Linked DNA regions of Homo sapiens: region 1 is linked to region 2. Evidence: promoter capture Hi-C in human tissues and cell types (Jung and others, 2019). All regions are on one chromosome and are shown on one strand. The core of a region is centred on a gene start or on the middle of the fragment in contact, and the rest is flanking DNA. Distances in the headings are between cores, read along the strand shown. Region 1 has its middle 8.7 kb from the start of APLP2. Region 2 holds the start of TMEM45B (transmembrane protein 45B).

The links. Contacts are between HindIII fragments. The study calls those that stand out against the background at their distance.
Region 1: a fragment that was not itself captured here is called in contact with the fragment with the promoter of TMEM45B in region 2 in 1 of the 25 tissues and cell types used here (H1 embryonic stem cells).

What each region holds. Positions count from the first base shown.
Region 1 is chr11:130,058,482-130,063,892 of GRCh38, reverse strand. No RefSeq gene overlaps it. Among named protein-coding and RNA genes, the nearest start is that of APLP2, 8.7 kb to the left of the region's middle. The HindIII fragment of the contact is 6,224 bases long and covers 1-5,411 here.
Region 2 is chr11:129,813,460-129,818,863 of GRCh38, reverse strand. TMEM45B (transmembrane protein 45B) reads right to left here and starts at 3,016. Exons shown (of 6, transcript NM_138788.5): 1 at 2,966-3,016. LOC124902793 (a long non-coding RNA gene) reads left to right here and starts at 4,177. Exons shown (of 2, transcript XR_007062952.1): 1 at 4,177-4,896. The HindIII fragment of the contact is 7,942 bases long and covers 1,499-5,404 here.

The DNA of each region.
Region 1 (5,411 bases), core at 1,409-3,908, 250 kb before region 2:
ACTTTGTCACTGGTCATTTATTTGAGGGAGTAAAAGCTATTTGCAGGATGTAAAGGTTTAAGTGGCTTGGAGGAAGGAGAGCTAACAAGTACAGTCTTGTCTCTTCCCAGAAGTTCCCCGTTGAAAGAGCAAAAACTAGGAGAGTAGCTCTTGTAGGGTATGGGTGGAGAACTTGGTTGTTGTTCCTGTTTGTCACTGATAAGGAGGCAGTGGTGGAAGGGAAAAAATTGAAAATGAAAGAGACCCAGTTGAGATTTGTAAAATGTGTATTAAACCCATTTTACAGATGAGAAAACTGAGGCTCAAAGAGGTTAAATAACTTGTCAATAGCCAAAACCAGTACTAGCAGAGAAGGAAACTGAATCCTGGTTTTACTGACTTAGAAATATATGGTCTCCTGATCACATCATGCTAACCAACTCCCTACCAAATATCGGAAAATATTAGTCTGATACAGCCCTCAATGGATGCATAAAAATGTTTCAATGGCTTGTCATTCCTTTTCCTTACATTTTCAGGCTGTGTGATAGTCTGTAAAGTCACATGCTTAATAATAAACAGAAGAGTCCTTATAAAAATGTATTTAGCTGTTGCATCTTTCTCTACTACTTAGAACACTTAAAAAAAATCAGCCTCAGGTTGAATTTTTTTTTTCTTCCCTTTTGTTTTGTTTTGTTTTGTTTTGTTTTGTTTTGTTTTGTTTTGTTTTGTTTTTGAGACAGGGTCTCACTCTGTTACCCAGGCTGGAGTGCAGTGGCACAATCATGGCTCACTGCAGCCTCTATTTTAGCAGGCTAAGGTGATCTTCCCACTTCAGTCTCCCAGGTAGCTGGGACTACAGGCATGTGCCACCATAGCCTGCTAATTTTTATATTTTTTGTAGAGAAGGGATTTTGCCATGTTGCCCAGGCTGGTCTCAAACTCCTGGGCTCAAGTGATCCACTGGCCTCGGCCTCCCAAAGTGCTAGGATTACAGGTGTAAGCCACCACACCAGCGCTTTTTTTTTTTTTTAACTTATTAGAGATGAGGTCTCACTATGTTGCCCAGGCTGGAGTGCTGTGGCTATCACTGGCATGATCATGACACAATACAGCCTCGAACTCCTTGGACTTCAGGGATCCTCCCGCTTCAGTCTCCTGAGTAGCTGGGATTACAGGCGCGTACCATCACACCCAGCTCTTTAGGGTGCTTCTGTGTTCTGTTTGCCGCTGATGCTGAGCAGGTGGAATCACTTCTCAGAGGGAAGCAATGCAGTTGCTTGAGGCAGAACAGGTTTAACCTTATATAATACACACGTTTACCACATTAATAGGTAATTAAGATTTAAATCGTTTATAAAGCCTTTCTTCTACCTCCTACTGATCTAGACTAAGGGTCTGCTTTTATCAAATAAGTCAAGTAGACAAAAATATCAAGTATTTAAAATCAATACAGGGTCCCCAGATTCGATGCCAAAGCAGGGCCTTGATATGGAAAAGAATCTGGTCCTAGAGTATGTTTTGTTTTCAAAGACAATATTAATTTAACTGATTACAATCCGGGTATGTGGGCATGTCTAAAATTAAATGCTACAAAAAAATCTTTAAACACCTTATGCGTATACTAAGTTTTGTTTTGGTGGTAAACTGGTTTACAGGCTTGAAAACAGGTTTTGCAAGTCCTAAAACTTACATAAGTCAGGTGCTCTCTTGAAGAGAAACAGTACGAGATTGCTTGGGGTCCTACCACAGCCTCGGAAGAAACTGGGGCAAAAGAGTGGCCTGGAAGCTTGCTCTGCATTAGCTCTGCAGAAAAACCACCTCTGGCTGCAAATCCCTCCTGCAGGAACTGTCCTCATATATAGCCCTGCCTAGTTAGCTTCCTTCATTTATTATTGTTCCTAAGTCTTATTTGTTTTTTGTTTTTTGAGACAGAGTTTTTCTTTGTTGCCCAGGCTGGAGTGCAGTGGCGCGATCTCGGCTCGCCGCAAGCCTCCCGGGTTCAAGCAGTTCTCCTTCCCCAGCCTCCCGAGTAGCTGAGATTACAGGCGCCTGCCATCATGCCTGGCTGATTTTTTATATTTTTGTAGAGATGGGGTTTCACCATGTTACCCGAGCTGGTCTCAAACTCCTGAGCTCAGGCAATCTGCCCATCTCAGCCTCCCAAAGTGCTGGAATTACAGGTGTGAGCCACCGCACCGCCCAGCCCTTAACCCTTATTTGAAAGAAACCATCTCATTCCCTGTACTTCAGTCGGTTTGTTCTCCCTCTGTGTTGTGGCTATTTTCTCATCTACCTGTAGTAATGCTACGTTGTTTGGTATTCTTGTTTGGTCCTTCTTTGAATAATTTCTTCTGCCTTCAGTGCAGAAAATACAAAATAATGGTGAAAAAAACCTCAGCGCTGGGAGCTGCTTATACTAAAAGTTCTTATCGTTGGTGATTTTTACATGGTACTTGCTTTTCAGAAAAGCTGATGTAAAACTGCTTTCTTGACATGCCCCACATCAGAGTTTGAAGGTATTTGTGTCATCTTTCTGCCTGGTGTGGAAGTCATTTACTACAATAGAAGGACAGAGAAGTTCACAGCTCCATTGGCTGGACATTTTGTCTTTTTATTGAACTAATCTTCATCACATAATTAAAGGTGGCTGTCATACCCCATTCTGCACACCCCCACTATCACCCGCAAAGTCTTTTCTTTCTTTCCTTTCTTTCCTTCCTTCCCCTTCCCCTTCCCTTTCCCTTTCCTTCCCCTTCCCCTTCTTCCTTCCTTCCTTCCTTCCTTCCTTCCTTCCTTCCTTCCTTCTTTCCTTCCTTCCTTCCTTCCTTCCTCTCTTTCTTTCTTTTTGACAGAGTCTTGCTCTGTTGCCCAGGCTAGAGTGCAGTGGTGTGATCTGGGCTCACTACAACCTCTGCCTCCCGGGTTCAAGTGATTCTTGTGCCGCAGCCTCCTGAGTAGCTGAGATTATAGCCACGCGCCACCACACCTGGCTAATTTTTGTATTTTTAGTAGAGATGGGGTTTCGCCATGTTGGACGGGTTGGTCTTGAACTCCTGACCTCAAGTGATCTGCCCACCTCGGCCTCCCAAAGTGCTGAGATTTATAGGCGTGAGCCACCAAGCCTGGCCATACAAAGTCTTTTCTTTAATAAACAGATTCACTTCTTTAACCATTTTACTTGTAATACTGTTTCCATTCTTACCATCCTTAGATCTCTGTATACATTCCAATTTACCAATCAGCCTCTAAAAGTATAGAATCCAAAACTGAACACAATATTTCACATACTAAACACAAACTACCCAGAAAATTCATTCTTTTTCTGGACAATGTGTATTTTATTAATAATGTAACCAACATTTCCTGATGAGATATCTACACCAAGTTCATGTAATAATAATTCATTAAAGAGTCAGATGTGGTAGCACTCCTGTAGCCTCAGCTACACAGGAGGCTGGAGTGAGAGGATCGCATGAGCTTAGGAATTTGAGGATTTGAGGCCAGCCTGGGCAACACAGCAGACCCTGTCTCTTAAAAAAAAATTAATTCAATATTTATTTGGCACCTACTATGTTCAATATACTTTGCTTGTGCTTCCTAATCTCAATTTAGTAAAGGCTCTTAGTTCAGCATTTAAAAGTGTTAGGATAACAGGGAAAACTTCTCAAAGGAAAACATGCTTTAACTGAGTTTGGAAAGGTGGGAGCCACCTGGACAAAGAAGGTGGCTGTGGCGAACAGGTGCTCAGCCAGGCAAAGGCATCTGTGTGGGTATTAACATGGAAGTAGCATGATGCCATATAAGAATGACGAGAGAGAAGAGGATTCCTAAGGGACAATGATTTTGTCCTTTAACTTGACAGCTATGGGATATCATCAGCTTTTTAGCAGGCATCTTAGAAAGACTAAGTGGAATAATGGATAAAATGCTTACATGTTTAGCTCAGCATACAGCATATAATAAGGGCTTGGTACAGGACAGTAGGTAGTTCTGGTTGGTTATTTATGGTTGCAGTGCAAGTTTAGGGAAAGAGAAGCTCATATTTGTATGACGCTTTTGAATTTTCAAATTTGTTTTGTGTCCATCATTTCCTTTCATATTTAAAAGAACCATGTAAAACTCACTTATTTCATTTCTAGGAATCCATCCTAGGAAAATAATCCAAATGAGAATAAATTATGGAAAAATGCTTATAAGATGTGTTAAAATTTCAGAAGTCATAGTAGGAATTGCATATGTGGAAAAATTTCTCTTATGCATTTAAAGTCGACTGAAAGAAAATGAACCAACATATTTTTTTCTGGATAATAGGATTATAAGTGATTGTTTTATTCTTTAAAAAATATTCCTATAATGGATATATGTTACGTTTATAACGGAGGGAGTAATCTTTCACTTTTCTTTTGTCTTTCTTGATCTTATCAACAATAACTTAGCCTGGGCAGCAAAGCAAGACCCGTCTCTACTAAAAATAAAAATAACAGCCAGGCACAGTGGTGCACACTCGTAGTCTCAGCTATTTGGGAGGCTGAGGTGGGAGGATCCCTTGAGTCTAGGAGTTCAAGGCTGCAGTGGCACGATGATGCCTGGGTGACAGACAAGAATCTGTCACAACAATAAATAAATAAATAAACAAATAAAACCTTGTTGCCGGGTGCAGTGGCTCACACCTGTAATCCCAGCATTTTGGGAGGCCGAGGCAGGTGGATTGCCTGAGGTCAGGAGTTCGAGACAGGTCTGGCCAACATGGTGAAACCCTGTCCCTACTAAAAATACAAAAAAAATTAGCCAGGCGTGGTGGTGTACACCTGTAATCCTAGCTACTTGGGCAGCTGAGGCAGGGGAATTGCTTGAACCAGGGAGGTGGAGGTTGCAGTGAGCTGTGATCACGCCACTGCACTCCAGCCTGGATGACAGAGTGAGACTCCATCTCAGAAAAAAAAAAAAAAAAAGACAGGGCAGTCATTATTGTCTTCATTTTGTAACAGTAACACTTTTATCGATGACAGTAACTATAACTCTCATTAGCACTCACTACATGCCACGCATTGTCCTAAGCGCCTTAGCAGATATTAACTCATTTAGAATGAATTAATGAGAATTATAGGGAGCACTTGTCTCATCAGGATGTTTTTGGCTGTAAATAATAGAAATGTCTACTCAACCTGATCGAAAGAAAAATAGTGTTTATTGACCCACACAACTGGAAAAGCCTAAAGGGGCAGGGATCAGGCATGGTTTCCGTCAGGACCTCAGCTCACGGCTCTGTGATGCTCTTGCTCCTCCTGGGAAAGCTTCACCTGCAGGCTGATGGCAGATCATTCACAATAGTTGCAGGTCTCATCCTACATCTGCACAGGAAATTATCCAGAAGAAAAAACAGCTTCTCGCCCAGCCTTCCCAACAGGAGTCCTGACATTCTCTGATTG
Region 2 (5,404 bases), core at 1,767-4,266:
CTTGCTTTATTTTTCTTAAATCCGGTTTTCTTCCTTGAAAAACCACAAGATTGGACTTGACAATCTTTAAGGTTATACTCAGCTCTAAGATATTTTTGTAATTATATGGAACAAAGATGGGCATGAAATATACCAAACGAGAGAGTTTCTAAATTTAGATTCTGATAATTCAAGTCAGAAAACATATTAAGTGTTCGGGAAAAACAAATCACAATCTTCCATCACAAAATTCAACAAGAACAACAAAAACCACTCCAGAGGCAGCTGTGGTATTCTGGAAGGAATGTTGGTTTGAGTTCTGGCTCTGCCATTTAATTACTGGCTAACCCTGGACCACATACACAATATCTCTGTTTCCATCTCCTCATTTTTGAAATACGGATTCTAATCTGACCTGAACAGTGCTGTTTACAAACATCGCCTTGTGCTCTATAAAGCCCCATTATGATTTCAACAACCAGCAAGATAATGGCTTATGATATCTAAGTCCTGGCAAGGAGAATGCGGGTGTGTACCTTGCTATATTCAGTTGAACTCTGCATCACATACAGAAGGCTGATAGACCTTTTAGCTTTCCTTTTTCCTCCAGTAGTGTAGCTTGTGGCCATTTAAGTTTTACACAAGAGAATAGAAAAGAGAGATAAAATTTGCTAAAATTCAAATAGTCTATTTGTGTTTGTTTCTAGCCTCAGTGAAGGTTTTGGGGAGAGGGGTAGCTGGTTAAAAGAGTAGAAGCTTAAGAGTTCAAAGAAAGTGTGAGGAGGACAGCACTCACCTGTGGCCTCTAATTGTTCATATTCAGTATGGTCTCATACTGGGAATAATCTAGTGTTTGTCTTATGATCTTTCTATAGAAACAAATATGGAATGTGTCTATAAGTACCATTAGTTGATGACACACTAGTGACTTTAATTCTCTTACAGTAAAAAGTTTTGCAATAGCAAGGACTTTGGCTAGGGGAGTGACTCTATGTGTGGTGAAACTGTCCTCACCCATTTTTCATTTGAGGAAAAGAGATAATCTTTTGATTACACCCAACACAGGTAACATCTGTACTTTGAACAGTTAAGTATAGCAGCTGATGTTTAACTGCAGGTAGGGGGGAGATGAGAAACAGAAATAACTGGTGCCAAATGTGAGATTCAATTACCTCGACCATCACAACCAACATCAACCAGAAGGGTGTGGGAGGAACTCATGGAATAAATGGGAACAGGTGTGGCCTGAGGATAAGTAAGTGGGGGCACTGTTTCCATCTTCATGAAGATGTGAGAGGAAATCAAAGCTCTTTAAAAAGAAGGAAATGGAATGCTTGGCTCCTGTAATATCAGAACAAATAATGCACAGCCAGAGGTCATGCCTCACCTTCTGCTTATCTCAGTCACCTCCACTTGTAAAATCAGTGGGCCATATTCAATAAAACCTTCATATCAGTTCCATATCTTTTCCCAGAAACCCCAGGAACAGAGGGAGCCAATATCCTTATTAAACCAAGAAGCTCACTGTCACAAAGAGCTAAGTCTGACGCCCCTGGGCCCCTACCTAACCACGTGTCCTGATTCTTTCCATAACTTCCCACTGCACAACATCCAGGTTATACTGAAGATATTACACATCTGGTTAAAAACAGTACACGTCTCTCATGAACAATAAGCCATCCTTTCTATTAAAATGAGTGTAAAATTGCAGGTAAAATGCTGTAGGCAGGCCTGTTTGGAAGGCTATGCGACCCTAGGAGACAAAAAGGTGCAGGAGGAGGAAAAGGGCAGACACCGCAGAAAGCGGTCGAAGAGAACGTGAAAGAAGTGGCCATTTCTAGCTGGGCGCGGTGGTTCACGCCTGTAATCCCAGCACTTTGGGAGGCTGAGGCGGGTGGATCATGAGGTCAGGAGATCGAGACCATCCTGGCTAACACGGTGAAACCCCGTCTCTACCAAAAAAAAAAAAAATACAAAAAATTAGCCGGGCGTGGTGGCGGGCGCCAGTAGTCCTAGCTACTCGGGAGGCTGAGGCAGGAGAATGGTGTGAACCCGGGAGGTGGAGCTTGCAGTGATCCGAGATTGCGCCACTGCACTCCAGCCTGGGCGACAGAGCGAGACTCCGTCTCAAAAAAAAAAAAAAAAAAAAAAAGAAGTGGCCATTTCTGCAACTTTTAGGAGAGCTACCTGCCCTCAAATTTTGAAAGGGTTTCTATTTCTTAAAGTGCTACGTTTCCCTGGCTGAAACTCACATCTTTCTTCCCTCTAGGGCTGGATCAAAGCTTCAGAGGTTGTTTCTCTGGCCCTAGACAGGGCCACCCCCGCAAATTTCTCCCCCACTGCGCCTGACATCCGCTTCCATCCATGGCTCCATTAACGGAAGCTAAGCACTGGCTCGGGGGACTTTATCCACCGCCCGGTGTTATTAGATTCCAGGCTTCCTGGCCTCAGGAAAGGATCTGGCTCGTGTATTTGTGTATCGCAGCTAACAAGGAAAGGCAGTCGGTACCAGTGCCCAGAGCTATGTGAGCTGTGACTGGTCACAGCCCAGGAGCCAGATGGCATCCCCGGGGGCGCGCGTCCCCGGACTCACCGGGCAGACGGAGGCCCGGGGCTTCACACCTTCCCCTCACCGGGCAACGCGGCAGACCTGACTCGCGGGGGACTGAGCAATATTCGTTCCAGGGCCGCGGCCAGCCGGACAGAGGCACTCGGGGGCGGTGGGAGTAGTGTGCGCACCGGTTCCGCAGCCCGGAGGGGGCCCCAGCTGGGCTTCCGCGACACCAGGGCCCTCCATCCCCTCCCGTCCTCCCCTAGCGCAGCCTTCACCCCTGTCCCAGAGCCCCTCCCTGTCCGCGTCCCCTCCCCCGCAGGTCCCCTGCGAGTCGGAACCTCCTCTCCATCACAGCCCCGCTCCTTGGCGGGGCCCCCTCTCCCTTCGAGCCCTCCTCCAGGTTCGAGCCCCCTGCGGGTACGGACGTCTGACCTGTGCCCAGCGCCTCGCAGCCGTCTGCAGCCCGCGCCGCGCGCCAAGTGCGTCCGCCCAGAAGCAGGTGCAGCTCCAGGCCCGCCCCGCCCCGCTGCGCCCCGCCCCGCTCCACTCCGCCAGGCCTGGCAGCCGCCAGCCCCTTTCCACCCTTGACCGCCCTTCCCGGTCCCGGCCAGCGTGCGGGGCATCTGTCGTCAGGTCCGCACTTCCTCCAGGCCTTTGACTTTCCCGTGGAGATGTCTCTGGCCTCAGGAACTCCCTAAGCTGTGTGCTTCAGGAGAGGCTGGTTCCTGAGTCACCCAAGAGGACTGCAACCAACCTGGACCTCCTGAGATGCAAAGAGATCGCAGGGCCTGGGAGGCGGCGAGGACCCTGAGAACAGGCTGTGGCTCCGAAGAGTGTTTGTTACCAAGCCAGGCAACCACTGCGAACACACCGCAGAAACAGCCACGGATCACCGTCCAGCAAAGGAAGAAGGTGCCAACGGTCCATCAGGGACCACAACCCAGTTTTTTTAGTTTAAGTTTGGTGGCTAAGTTTGAGTGTCACATAGTTCATTCATTCCTTCATTCATTCAACAAATCTGCCATGTTCCCATCTGATAACAGATCTGACAGGTGGGCACTGTTCTAGGTGCTGGCGATAGAGCTAAGAAGGAAACAAAGTTCCTGTCCCGGAGAAGGGGGCTACCTGCTGAGGAGAGCATGACTTTCTTTGTGGTATTGTGCTGTGGCAGCAGGGTCCTCTTCTGTAAGCTACTGAGAGGTGAAACCCGCTGGGCTTCTGGGTCGGATGGGGACTTGGAGAACTTTTCTGTCTAGCTAAAGGATTGTAAAAGCATCAATCTGCACTCTGTGTCTAGCTAAAGGTTTGTAAACACACCAATCAGCACTCTGTAAAAATGCACCAATCAGTGCTCTGTGTCCAGCTAATTGGTGGGGACTTGGAGAACTTTTCTCTCTAGCCAAAGGATTGTAAATGCACCAATCAATGCTCTATGTCTAGCTAAAGGTTTGTAAACACATCAATCAGCACTCTGTAAAAACGGACCAATCAGCACTCTGTAAAATGGACCAATCAGCACTCTGTAAAATGGACCAATCAGCGCTCTGTAAAATGGACCAATCAGGAGGATGTGGGCAGGACCAATCAGGAGGATGTGGGCGGGGCCAATGAGGGAATAAAAGCTGGCCATCCGAGCCAGCGGCAGCTGCGTTTGGGTCCCCTTCGATGGTGTTGGGGTTTTGTTGTTTCGCTCTTTGCAATAAATTTTGCTGTTGCTCACCTTTTAGGTCCACACTACCTTTATGAGCTTTAACACTCACAGTGAAGGTCTGCAGGTTCACTCCTGTAAACCAGCGAGACCAGGAAGCCACCACAAGAAACAACTCTGGAGCCGCCACCTTTAAGAGCCATAACACTCACTGTGAAGGTCTGTGGCTTCACTCCTGAAGTCAGCGACACCACGAACCCACAGGGAGGAGCAAACAACTCCAGACGCACCACTTTTAAGAGGTGTAACACTCCCTGCGAAGGTCTGTGGCTTCACTCCTGAGGTCGGCGAAACTACGAACCCGCTGGGAGGAAGGAACAACGCGGATGCGCCACCTTTAAGAGCTGTAACACTCCCTGCGAAGGTCCGCGGCCTCACTCATCAAGTCGTGCATAGACCACGAACTCTCTAGAAAGAAAAAACTTCGGACACACCTGAACATTTGAAGGAACAAACTCCGGACACACCATGTTTAAGAACTATAATGCCGTGAAGGTCCGCGGCAGGACCGGGACCAGGAACTCTTCAGAGGGAACCAATTCCGGATACACAGCTTCGTGGAATGGTTCTGCACTGTGTGTGTGTGTGTTTCCCGTCAACCCTGTGCACACTATTAGAAGAACACAAGCGTTAAGGCTCCCTCTCAGTCCTGCCGGTAAGAATCCAGGGCTGATGCACCTATTAAAAGCTTCTCAGGAGGCCTGGGGAAGTGGGGGTTGAGAACCACGGGTCTAGATCTCTAAGATGCCTGGCAGCTTATTCCACTGTTGAGGGCACTGGCAATCAGGAAGGGCTTCATGGAAGAGATGTTTGCATTTGGGTTTTAAAGCAGGGCCACAGCTAGATATTAGCAGTGCAGAAGGACACGGGATCCGACGGGCAGCCTGTTGACCAAATGGCTCCGTTTTTATAAAGTCAAAGAACATCACTGTGAAGGATAAGGCATTAACTGGAGCAGACCTTTCCCTGGTAAAACAGAGCGAATGGGATCTGGTGGGAGGTGGTAATGGCCAAGAGGTAGTGCCGTCAGTGAAAAGCGTCATGGAGTCGTGCACCTTACAGGGAGGATGGGCCGCAGCCAGGAGCTGAGAGGGCATCTTTTAAATTTGCCGTCAGCTCAGGAACTTAATCACACATCTCATCCTAGCCCTTGCTCACACCCA